Linked DNA regions of Homo sapiens: regions 1 and 2 are each linked to region 3. Evidence: promoter capture Hi-C in 16 types of primary human blood cells and fetal thymus (Javierre and others, 2016). All regions are on one chromosome and are shown on one strand. The core of a region is centred on a gene start or on the middle of the fragment in contact, and the rest is flanking DNA. Distances in the headings are between cores, read along the strand shown. Region 1 holds the start of YES1 (YES proto-oncogene 1, Src family tyrosine kinase). Region 2 has its middle 2.0 kb from the start of ZBTB14. Region 3 holds the start of MYL12B (myosin light chain 12B).

Evidence for each region. Contacts are between HindIII fragments. The CHiCAGO score rates a contact against its expected background, and 5 or more counts as called.
Region 1: a contact is called between the fragment with the promoter of YES1 here and the fragment with the promoter of MYL12B in region 3, in 2 of 17 cell types (activated CD4 T cells and naive CD4 T cells). The highest score is 7.4, in activated CD4 T cells.
Region 2: a contact is called between a fragment that was not itself captured here and the fragment with the promoter of MYL12B in region 3, in 2 of 17 cell types (naive CD8 T cells and non-activated CD4 T cells). The highest score is 6.4, in naive CD8 T cells.

The regions. Positions count from the first base shown.
Region 1 is chr18:810,921-814,397 of GRCh38, forward strand. It overlaps YES1 (YES proto-oncogene 1, Src family tyrosine kinase), which reads right to left and starts at 1,322. Exons shown (of 12, transcript NM_005433.4): 1 at 1,194-1,322. RefSeq lists silencers at 929-1,018, 1,089-1,148, 1,199-1,708 and enhancers at 1,440-1,982, 1,983-2,524. The HindIII fragment of the contact is 10,737 bases long and covers 1-3,442 here.
Region 2 is chr18:5,295,972-5,299,425 of GRCh38, forward strand. It overlaps a transcript of ZBTB14 not described here. Among named protein-coding and RNA genes, the nearest start is that of ZBTB14, 2.0 kb to the left of the region's middle. RefSeq lists silencers at 1-93, 174-593 and enhancers at 401-1,086, 804-963. The HindIII fragment of the contact is 2,095 bases long and covers 1,158-3,252 here.
Region 3 is chr18:3,260,193-3,263,725 of GRCh38, forward strand. MYL12B (myosin light chain 12B) reads left to right here and starts at 1,941. Exons shown (of 4, transcript NM_033546.4): 1 at 1,941-2,045. It overlaps MYL12-AS1 (MYL12A and MYL12B antisense RNA 1), which reads right to left and starts at 2,167. Exons shown (of 4, transcript NR_130145.1): 1 at 1,861-2,167; 2 at 1,080-1,138. RefSeq lists an enhancer at 1,337-1,386 and a silencer at 1,597-2,486. The HindIII fragment of the contact is 3,443 bases long and covers 1-3,351 here.

The DNA.
Region 1 (3,477 bases), core at 72-2,571, 2.4 Mb before region 3:
TGCTTCCTGTCCACCGTGTGCCAAGCACTGTGATAGTTAAGATATTAGATTTACCATGCACTTTTCCTTAAATGCACAGTCACGTGTATACATTTAGTAATACTTTCCTTAGTGCGTAATTTAACTTTAGAAGTGTAACAGGATGGTTTAAATATTTAAAATTATCAAGGTATCTTTGGCACTGTAATCTTACAGTTATAATACATGAAGATACTATAATCATATCATGTGAAATCGACTGTGAAAACACACACCCGTGGAACGTATATACATAATAAATGGACATAAAATTGTGCTTCCACCAAAGACTTTCATTATTTCCTTTAGTAATTTATAATTATACAGTATGTTATTCCACGCCTGTATCAATTAATTATGCAGAAAATGATTCAACCAAATCCGAACTGTTAAGTCCTACTCATTACAAAACAAAAACTAAAGTCCCTACACCAGACTTGATTTTCAAAGAGCTTCTTAAAACAGCTCTGCCCCATGCCCAATAAAGTGAAAGCTGGAAGCAATTATCAAGAAGAAAAACACACTTTAAGACAATTTTCTTTAACACATGTGGACAGGGAACCGAACGCAACGGGAGGCGGAGTGGCATGATTCCGTAAAAGTGGACGCTGAATGGTAAATTTCCCAACCCCCAACCCAAAACAAAGGAAAACTTTAAACATGTTGCGGTTTTCAATCAAACCAAGTAAAGCCAGAAAGGCTCATCCACTCGCCCCACACACCCGCTCCTCTCCCCGCACAGCTGCTACCGGCGTCGGCCGATACACAGACCCCCAGCCTTTAGGACCCAAAGGGGCCGCTTCCCTCGCCCCTACTTCGGCCGTAGGGGCAAAAATAAACCTCTCCTCCCCGTCGCCGGGCGGTCCACACGACCCCAAAGACAAGGGGTGGGGAGTGTCCCCACGCCCCTGGAACCTCAGGTCGGACTTGGGCGGGACCCGGCAGGTCTGGACAGGGCAGAGACCGAGTCAGGGGCGAGCAGGTAGCGCGGGGAACGAGACAAGCCCGCCGGGCGATCCGGGGGAGGGGAGAAGTTTCTTCCCAACTTCCCGACTCGGGCCCGCGGGGGCGGGGAACCGCGGCGGCGGCGGCGGCGGCGGCTCCGGGCGCTGGGGCCTAGCCCTGTCCGGGCAGAGGTGGAACCCTCCGCCCGCGGGGCCCCACCGGGTCCTTACCTGTCCTCCGGCCGCGCTCTCATGAGTCGCTGCTACCGCAGCTCGAGGTGGCGGAGGGCGGAGGCGAGGCCCGCGGGCCCTCTCCCTCCTCCACCTCCTCGTCCCGGGGCGCCCGGCGGCAGCAACGACGGCAGAGCCGGCCCGGGACGCGTTACTTCAGGAGGAGGGAGTTCCCGGGCTCCCCACGCCTCGGCCTCACTCTCCACCTCCTCCGCCCCCCCCCCCCGGCCCCGCCCCCTGACTTCTAGCGGGGGCGGGGGCTGCGGGTACCTGCGCGCGCCGCCGTCCGCTCACCGGAACTCGGGCCACGCCGGCCCGGCTCCGGGGCCCCCAGCCTTCCGGCGCCTACGCCCCCGTCAGGTCCCCTCCGCGGGCTCCGGGCCGCTTTGCTGTGGTCAGGATAGGCGACCGGTCCGTGTCACTTCTCCCGACCCAACATGGCGGCGGGGTCCGGGGCGGATTCCCGGGGGCGGTGCAGGCCGAGGGGGCGTGAGGAGGAGGTGCTTCCCTGCCCGGAGAGCAGGCCCGCGGCGTCCCTTCCCACCCGCGAACCCACCGACGCTCGGCTGCCGCGGAGATTGAATGGAGCGCTCCGATTCTGCCCCTCTGCCTTTCTCTGTTCCTTGGCCCAGCTCTCAGTAGTGGCCAGGGCTTTGGGGCTTGCTTTTGTGGGGGAGGACGGGGTTGAGTTTTTTTGGTTGGCTGTTTGCTTCTCAGCGCTACGCTTCCGCACCCTTTGTCGTTGGTAGTAAAATCTCAAGCCCAACCGCGTGAGCCGGGGGCGTTACTCACACCCTCATCACCATCCTGATCGCCGTCCAAAAAACGTTCACGTCTTGCCTCCTTCCGAGGCAGGGATCCTGTCCCTGCCCCCAGGAGCTTCCTGTTGACTGTAGGTCGAACCAGCCTTGCCGGGAGGGGAACCGAAGCTGAGTTCTGTTTGGCGACTATCCCAGTCATGGTGGCTTTGGCTTATGTTGGGACAGCGTTTTTCTATATGATGCTGGCGGCAGCCCAGTGAGGGAAGTGCAACAAGTATGGTTCTCCTGCTTGTCAACTGTGGAAACAGCGACCCTGAAAGTGGAGGAGCCACAGCTGGAATCGTGTCCGTCTGAATACACGCACCTTTCCTATGAGCCTTGTAAAGCCAGTCGTTGAAGAAGGGGGAGGACCCGGAAGGATGGGGTGGGGGCGTAAAGATGAAGGTTAATCAAGGTCCTCATGGACTGAACCTTGAGGCCCTTCTGCTGCAGTCACTTTTGCCCTATCAGACTTTTAGAGTAACTTCCTCTCTTTATTTCCTCTTTGGTGGGGTTATCAGAATTATTTTGTGACTATTGGTTTCCTTTGCGGTTTTTAGTGAAATTCAGAATCATCTTCGACGGATAGGAAATAGTGCAATCATATGTGTCAGTATTCCGGTATTCTAGGAACTTAAGGAAATGCATATAAGGGTTTGAACATTTTTTTCTTCAGCTCACTAAATGAACGAAAGGTAGGCGTAGGCGTTAAAGAGACACATAATGTGGAACGATGCTGTATTTTCTTAGCTACTAAAACTTCATTTGTCATTGACTGTCTCAGGGCTTTAAAATTTTATGTAGGTCTATATTCAGCTTTTATTAAAATAGAAAATTCCTTGAGCTGTTGCCTTTCTTCACTAAATAGAGATAATTTCGTCTTCCTAAACACTCAGTCTCAAAAATCACCTCTAAAATAGGCCGGGCACAGTGGCTCACACGTGTAACCCCAGCATTCTGGGAGTCCAAGACAGGAGGATCACTTGAGTCTAGGAGTTGGAGACCAGCCTGGGCAACATGGGAGACCTCCTATCTATTTAGTAAAATATATTTTAAAAAATAATAATGAAATGAAATAGTAGTTTGCCCCAGTTTAAGGGGTAAGGTGGCTTTGAAGATGTTCTATATGGAGTTTTAAAGTTGGGAGAGTATGTCAGAATGTCACCTACAAGTTATGGATTACATTGACTTACTGAGTTTGCTTCTCTTCGCCCTCCCTTTTTTTTTTTATTACTACATTCCCTGATTTCTTTTTTAGTATATTCATCAATGTCAAACTTCAGTCTGTAAATAACCTGGAAAGTTTTCAATCTTACATTTAGTGGCTCACTTGTTTCCAGGAATATTTTTTAAAAAATTTTTTAATGAGGAAGAGAAAACTGGAAAGTCTTACTGAGTTTGGTGTAACAAAAATTGCTTTTAATCTGTTCATCCTGAAACGGACAAATAAGCTTGCCCCTACTTTTCCCTCCTGCACAGCATAG
Region 2 (3,454 bases), core at 955-3,454, 2.0 Mb after region 3:
CGTGCACGTCCCTGATGGTAGCAGCCCTCCTCCTGCACGAGCACAGAATGTCTAGCCGGCCGTGAACACCCCCACCGCCCCCCCCTTCCCGTGCATGCGCGGTGCGGGCTGGGGGGAAGGCGCGCCGCCGGCTTGCGCAGGCACGGAACCCGACCGGGTCTCTAAGTGGGCGAGCAAAGAAAGGGTTAATCCGGGCCCTTGCCGACGCTTTCGTTGGAGACTACGGGGCCGCCCCCGGAGGGCCCTGGCCTGCGCACGCGCGCGCACGCGCGCGGCTTGGGGCGCGCGGAGCCCGCGCGCGGGAGAAGGAGTGGGCGGGGCAAGGGCGGGGCTTCGGGAGCCAGGGAACTTAAGCACGAGCGCTGCTCGCGGACACCCGCCCCGCCTCAAGCTCCCTCCCGCCCTGGTTCGTGGGCTTCCGCCCGCGCCCGGCGCCGGCGCAGCGCCGGGGACGCGGGAGCCAGCGCTCCCGTGCGTGTGCATGTGCGTGGGCCAGAGCCTCCCCCGGGCGCGCGCAGGCCGGGCGCTGAGGCTGCGGGGCTCTGCCGCGTCTCGGAGCGGGCGCCCCGGCCACTTTCGCCCTCCGCGCACACCGGCCGACACCGGGAGGCGCGCCCACGGGTCTGCGGTCTTGCCTCTTGCCGCCGGCACATTGAGTTTGTGGGGGAGTGGACGGTGCACAATAAACACTTGCAGAACAAATGGAAAAAGCGACGTCTTCGATTTGTAGTGTAAAGCGCAACCCCAGTTGCCCAGCAGAAAGGGATCACCCATAGGGCTTCGGAGCTAGTAGGTCCGCGCCCGGACACTCCAAGGAAAAGTCCAGGGGCTGGAGGCGGCGACCCGTCTGTGGCAGTCCAGACCCTGGACTCGATTCGGAGAGCTCTGATAACTTGGCTCTGTCCTTAACATCCCTGCTCAGCGCCAGTAATGGCTCCGTTGCTGTTGAACCACGTCGCCTTCCCTCTGACGCGGCGGCTGTGCCTGTGTCTGGCGTCGGGAGCTGGGAAGTCCCTCCCGCTCCCGCGTTTTCTGCTCACCGAGATGCAGGAGGCCGGACAGCAATGCCGCGCCGCCTTAGAGTCGCTCATGTTGCTTTACCTCACACGCGAAGTTTCCCCGAAACGCGTAATTTAATATCTAAAGATTAGAGCAGAAGCTTCCTCTTGGGCTTATTGAAGATGACATAAGATAGTGCTTGCAACAGGCACCTAAGTAAACATTTGGGAAATAATATGATGATTGGATGTGTTAATTTTCTAAAGGAAGTTCTATATGGCCTCAGTTGATTTTGTAATGTTAATTGACTTTGGTTTAACGTTCCCCAAGGCGACTTTATACGCATCTTTTTTGATGTTCACAAAAGCACCCAAGTTACGGCTTATATGGAGGAAATAGGATGGAAGAGACCGGTTGTAGAGTCAGACATATCCAGTTCACATATTGGGTAAATTGTTTAACTTCTCTAAACCTCAGCTGAAGGAGAGCTATGGAAAGCACCTAATAAGGCACTTGTAAGGATTAAGTGAAATAATGCCCAGCTAAGGTATTAGCTCCATGATGGAAAATCACCTGCACCCACAGATAGTGGGTTCCAGTGGCCTGGACAGAACCAGAACCAAGTCTTCTGCCACGAAAGTTCACACTCATCAGACATGATACCGTGTACTCGCTTTATTCTTGTTTGCGTAGCTCTTGAAGTTGCATTTCAATCCTGTGGATGCTGTGTGTTTATAGGGGGATAATAATAGTACTCTGTCATAGGGTTGCGTCACCAAGCAGTAAAGCAGCCACTGCAGTTAGCACAATGTGTGGACACGGCCAGTACTCAAGTCATGGCGCATCTGCTGCTGGCGCTCCCCCTTCTCCCATACCACATATGGGGTTTCCCACTCATTCTGCGTGTATTTTTGGTCTGCCTACTGTGTAAAGACAATCTTTTCGCATATGGCTAGGAAAAGACTTCCCACGTTTCCACTAACCCGATAACATAATTCACAAGAGTTCTAAAGCACTAGAATGCATTTCTCAAGTGACGGTTCCTGACATCCTGGTTTTGTATCAATGAATCCTCTTGTCTCATTTGTTTTATGTTCATGTCACCTGGGCTCTGCCTGGCTGTCCCTTGCTGGTTCACAGGGGTTGTGGGGATGAGTCTAAATTAAAGGGACAACTCTGTGGGAAGGTGGAGGGATGGGAAACCACAAAGGAAAGGCCTGACCCAAGCCTGGCTTCTCGCCTGTGTCGCCACCCAAAAGTGCACTTCCCAGCACCCAAGAGGCTTTCAATAAACATCAGCGGACAGTAAGTGACAACCTTGAATTTGATACTAAGGGGCTTTGTAAAAGTACACTGTGGCGTCAACGCGGGGGCAGGGCTTTCCTGAAATGCACTGACCCAAGGTCCTTGACAAAGTTTTCCTCCTTTTCCGACAACTCTGATGGGTGACATTTGGAGCACGTTGTTCCTCACTTGGGACACCCATGGCCTCCTGAGTGGAACCTGTTTCTAAGAATTGTGAGGCCCAGGCCATGGGGCCCGCAGTGTGCAGTCCCGGGTGCCAGGGTCTGATGTGGTTACAGAGCAGCCCAGTAAGGGACCGTTTGGAAACATTATGTCTCACAGGCGGGGGAGGTTGATTTCTCCCTCATGTTGACCTTGGGCCCTCTGGCTGGTTTTGAAACAGCAGGATACCAGCAGATGAGAGTGGGCCGGGTCTGAGTAGAGGTTTTGAGAGCAGCCTTTGTTCTGCGCCTCCTCCTCTGCTGTGACGTCCAGCACAACACGACCATGGTTAGGCCACAACCCCCTCTTCAGCTTGGGCCCTTGAATGACAAACAGACCTGAGAATGAAGCCAACCCAAAACCTGAGCACAGCCAAGCCTAGAGAGAAGACAACTCACCCACAGACCTATGACTGAGAAGTAAATGTTTGTTTTATAAGCCACTGGGAGGTTGGGTTTTATGCTTTGTTACTGAACAAAATCTAATACATCTGTGCAAGGAAAAGTGTCACACCCAATGCCATAACCACCTTCCCCCTGTGACTCTGAGAACACTTGATACAGCAAATGAACAAAAACCCGATCCAATCCGTGTCATCATGGAGATACTGATGTGCACATTCAACAAATAATCACATCGTTACACAATTGCACATTGCAATAAGTGTTTTTATAGAAAGTTAAAAAACACAGAATGTGATGAAAAAGAGGAACAGGAGGAATTAATTTTGCCTGGGAAATCAGTGAAAGCTTCTTCAAAGGCATACATTTAAGACCTGAAAGATGAGGGAGAGATTCGCAAAGAGGGGGAAGAAATAGCATTTCAAGACAGAGACAGGAACAAAGTGAATGCAAGGGTGGAAGGAGCTTGAAGTACCTCAGTCTCTGCAAAAGTGGACATGAGATGTGTTTGTGAGAACAACAGTGTCCAGCACCTGTAGGGCCTTGTG
Region 3 (3,533 bases), core at 691-3,190:
GCCAGGCGCGGTGGCTCACGCCTGTAATCCCAGCACTTTTGGAGGCCCAGGTGGGCGGATCATGAGGACAAGAGATTGAGACCATCCTGGCCAACATGGTGAAACCCCGTCTCTACTAAAAATACAAAAATTAGCTGGGCGTCGTGGCACAGGCCTGTAGTCCCTGCTACTCGGGAGGCTAAGGCAGAAGAATCACATGAACCCGGGAGGCAGAGGTTGCAGTGAGCCGAGATCAAACCACTGCACTCCAGCCTGGGCGACGGAGCAAGACTCCGTCTCAAGAAAAAAAAAAGTGTCTAATACTGCCAGACGCACTGGTGCGGTGTCTCTCACCTGTAGTCCCAACTACTTGGGAGGCTCAAGTGAGAGGATCGCTTGAGGCCAGGAGTTCCAGGTTGTAGTGCATTATGATCACGCCTGTGAATAGCCAGTGCATTCCAGGTTAGGCAACATAGGGTGACCCCATCTCTAAAAATAAAACGTATCAAATACAACTGAGGAACTAAATTTAAGTTTAGCTGCATGTGGTTAGTGACGATTGTATTGGACAGCACAATTCTAGAAACTTTTTTTTTTTTAATTTAGACTATCGAACCAAAACCTAAGAGTAAATATTGTAGAACCAGGTGTGACTTTTCAGCAATTGCTTTTCTAACACTATTGAGAAAATACACACAGTTATGAACCGCGTTTAGAGCTGTGCTGCTGGGATGGCGACCACCCCATCAGCATCATGTGTGCTTACCAGAAATTCGAATTATCCTCCACCCCTTACTCACTGAATCCTGATACCCGGTTTTGAGGCTCAAAAATGTTTTTAAAAGCCCTGTTATTATGCGTGCTACTGTTTAAGAACTGCTACAGAGTGCTGAACACAAGGTCCCTCTCTTCTAGGAATTTCTGATCAAAGATTTCTAGAATATAAACTCCCTAAGAGGCTTTGAATTCATCTCTCAGCATCCGGCACATGTTAAGGCAGTAAGAAGAGTTCAATAAAGATTTGCTATTAGATTGCCGATCCTCCACCATCCTGAAGTAATGCTATTTTAGTAATGCTAGATGAAGTAATGCTAGATTACCTCAAGGTGAGGGAAAATATCCTGAAGAACACAGCCACAAACACGATCTAGAACAAAACCTGAAAAACGTAGCTTTGTGTTTTTATTTGTGTGTGCATGTATGTGTGTGCGTTGCCATTTTCTTGATAAAGGAAAGCAAGTAGTTCGAATAAAACTTTCTTGTGGCCAAAAGGGGAATCAAACAGCCGTAGGCTGCGGCCGTAGCCTGATACGGCCGTAAACCTTATGAGGGTAAGCAGAGAGGAGTAGGTTAAAGAATTTAACTCGGGCTGTAATGCGGTTTGAAAAGAGAAAGGGATTCTGGAACGGAGAAGAATCCGCCCAGGCGCCGCCCTCACCTTCTCAACATTACATGAGACGAACCCTAAAACCTGTCTTGTCTGAAATTCAAATTTAGAAGAACTGTACTTTTACTTGCTACATCTGGCAACTCAGGGTTCGGCGCCAGGGGACCCCAAATCCTAGGCGGATCGCGCCCCGCCTGGGTCAAAGGGGACCCCAAATCCTCGGCCGATCGCGGCCCACTCGGGTCAAATTCCAGCGGCCTGCCCAGCCGCGCCCAGCGGGCCCAGGAATGCGGAAGGGTGGCGGAGCTACCAAAGGAGCGGGGGACGAGGGCCGGGCTGCGGACGACCGCCGCAGCGCAGGCCGCGATATCGCAGCGGATCGGAGCAGGCCGGAGGGGCAATTAAGACCCCGGCCGTGTGCGTCCGGCCTCAGCAGCCCCGCCGCTCGGCGGACACGCAGACCCCGCCGGCCCGGGCGCGAACACTCAGCGCACCCCCGTTCCACTTGGTCCCGCCGCGCCTTCCGGTGCGCCTTCCGGTGCGCCTTCCGGTGCGCCTTCCGCTCCGCCCCTTCAGGCAGGAAGTGTCGGCGCCGCCACTGTCCGGCCACAGCCTAACGCTCTTCGCTGTCGTTTGTGGTCTCGCGCAGGGCGGCCCCGGTTCTGGTGTTTGGCGTCGGGTGAGTCGCGCTCGACTCTGCTCGCGAGACCCCTCGGGCCGCCGTCTCCGTACCCCCGCGCCCCCTCCCGTCGCGCGCCTGCGGCCGGACCCCGCCCCAGGGCGGCCAGGCGGCGGCAGGACCTGTCAGACTGGCTGAGAAGGGGGCGCGGGGCCGGAGGTGGAGGGAGGAGGGTTGGCGGCGGGAGGAGGGTTGGTGGCGAGGCCCTGGCCCGGACGTCCAGGGGCCGGGAGGCTGCAGGCGATGGAGCCGGTATGGGGAGACGCCCTGCTGGAGAAGTGGCCGGGTCCCGGCCGTGCGTGGGCCGGCCCTGCGCCACCTGGGTGACCTCAGACACCTGGGCCTTGGACGGCCCGGCTGCCCGGCGGCCAACGCCTGCCCTCCCGGCGCCGCGGCGGGTCCTGGCGGTGGATTGGGGCCGACCCGGGCGTGTTCGTGTGGAGCACCTGCCCTGTGCCCAACACTATCCTAGATGCTTTGGAGGGTGGAGGAGCCTCCTGTTGCACGGTCTTGCCTAAGGTGAAGCCTCCAAGGAAGCCATTAGCATGCCGGTAACCGAGTGTGTGGTTGATACGGGCTCAAATGTGATGATTTACATAGAGTTGTAATTCGCTCAGTGTGTCTTGCATCTTGTAAAGGTTTAGTTTATTCGTGTTGATTGAAGAAAGGACCATTAACAGAAATAGGGAAAGGTTACTTGGAAAAGAGTCGTGACCTCACTGAAGGCCTTGGATTCAACCTTAAGAGGGAGAACTTAGCGTTTCCGGCTAGATGTGTGGGAGGTGGTAACGAGCAAAACTCAAAAGCTGGGAATTGTGTCCTGTGAAAAGCAGGCCGTGGGGACACCGGCGGGTATGGAACAGAACTGTAATGACTAATAGTCGGAAATAAGGGTAGATAGGTAAGTAGGACCTTCTTATGGATGTCTTGAAAACTTAGGAGAAAGAAAAGATTATCTAAGAAGCCATAGAGAGTAATTTTGGAGTCTTCACTAACGGAGTAATAAGAAAGGGATGTTTAGAGGATTCGTTTGGCCGCTTTAGTTTAAGGTAGATTTGGAATGGTCTTTTGGTAAGAGAAGAATCAAAGCATTTAGAATTCAGTAGGACCTGATAGATTACCTTGTGAAGGCTTTGCGTTTTATAACTGAGGAAAGTGAAACCCAGAGAGGTGAGGTAATTTGTCGAAGGTGGTGGACCCTCCTGGACTTTATAACTAAGAGCACTTTTGAGTGCTTTAGGCTCTTTTGAGTGAAACAGCTTTTATGATGGCTGACTCGATGTTCGTTTATGCTTTGATGAAACTAAGCTTGAACAAGATGAACTGCAATTTCTGAAGGACAGATGTCCAGACAAGAGTTGCTAGGGTTAGGAAAGAACAGGATTTAGAGCCCCGACATGGGGCTAGTTTTCCCTTTCTCCCAAGATTCAAAGGCTCCAGGTATATCTGGGGATGAGTTTATCATACCCTTTTTGCCAGCATCTTTGT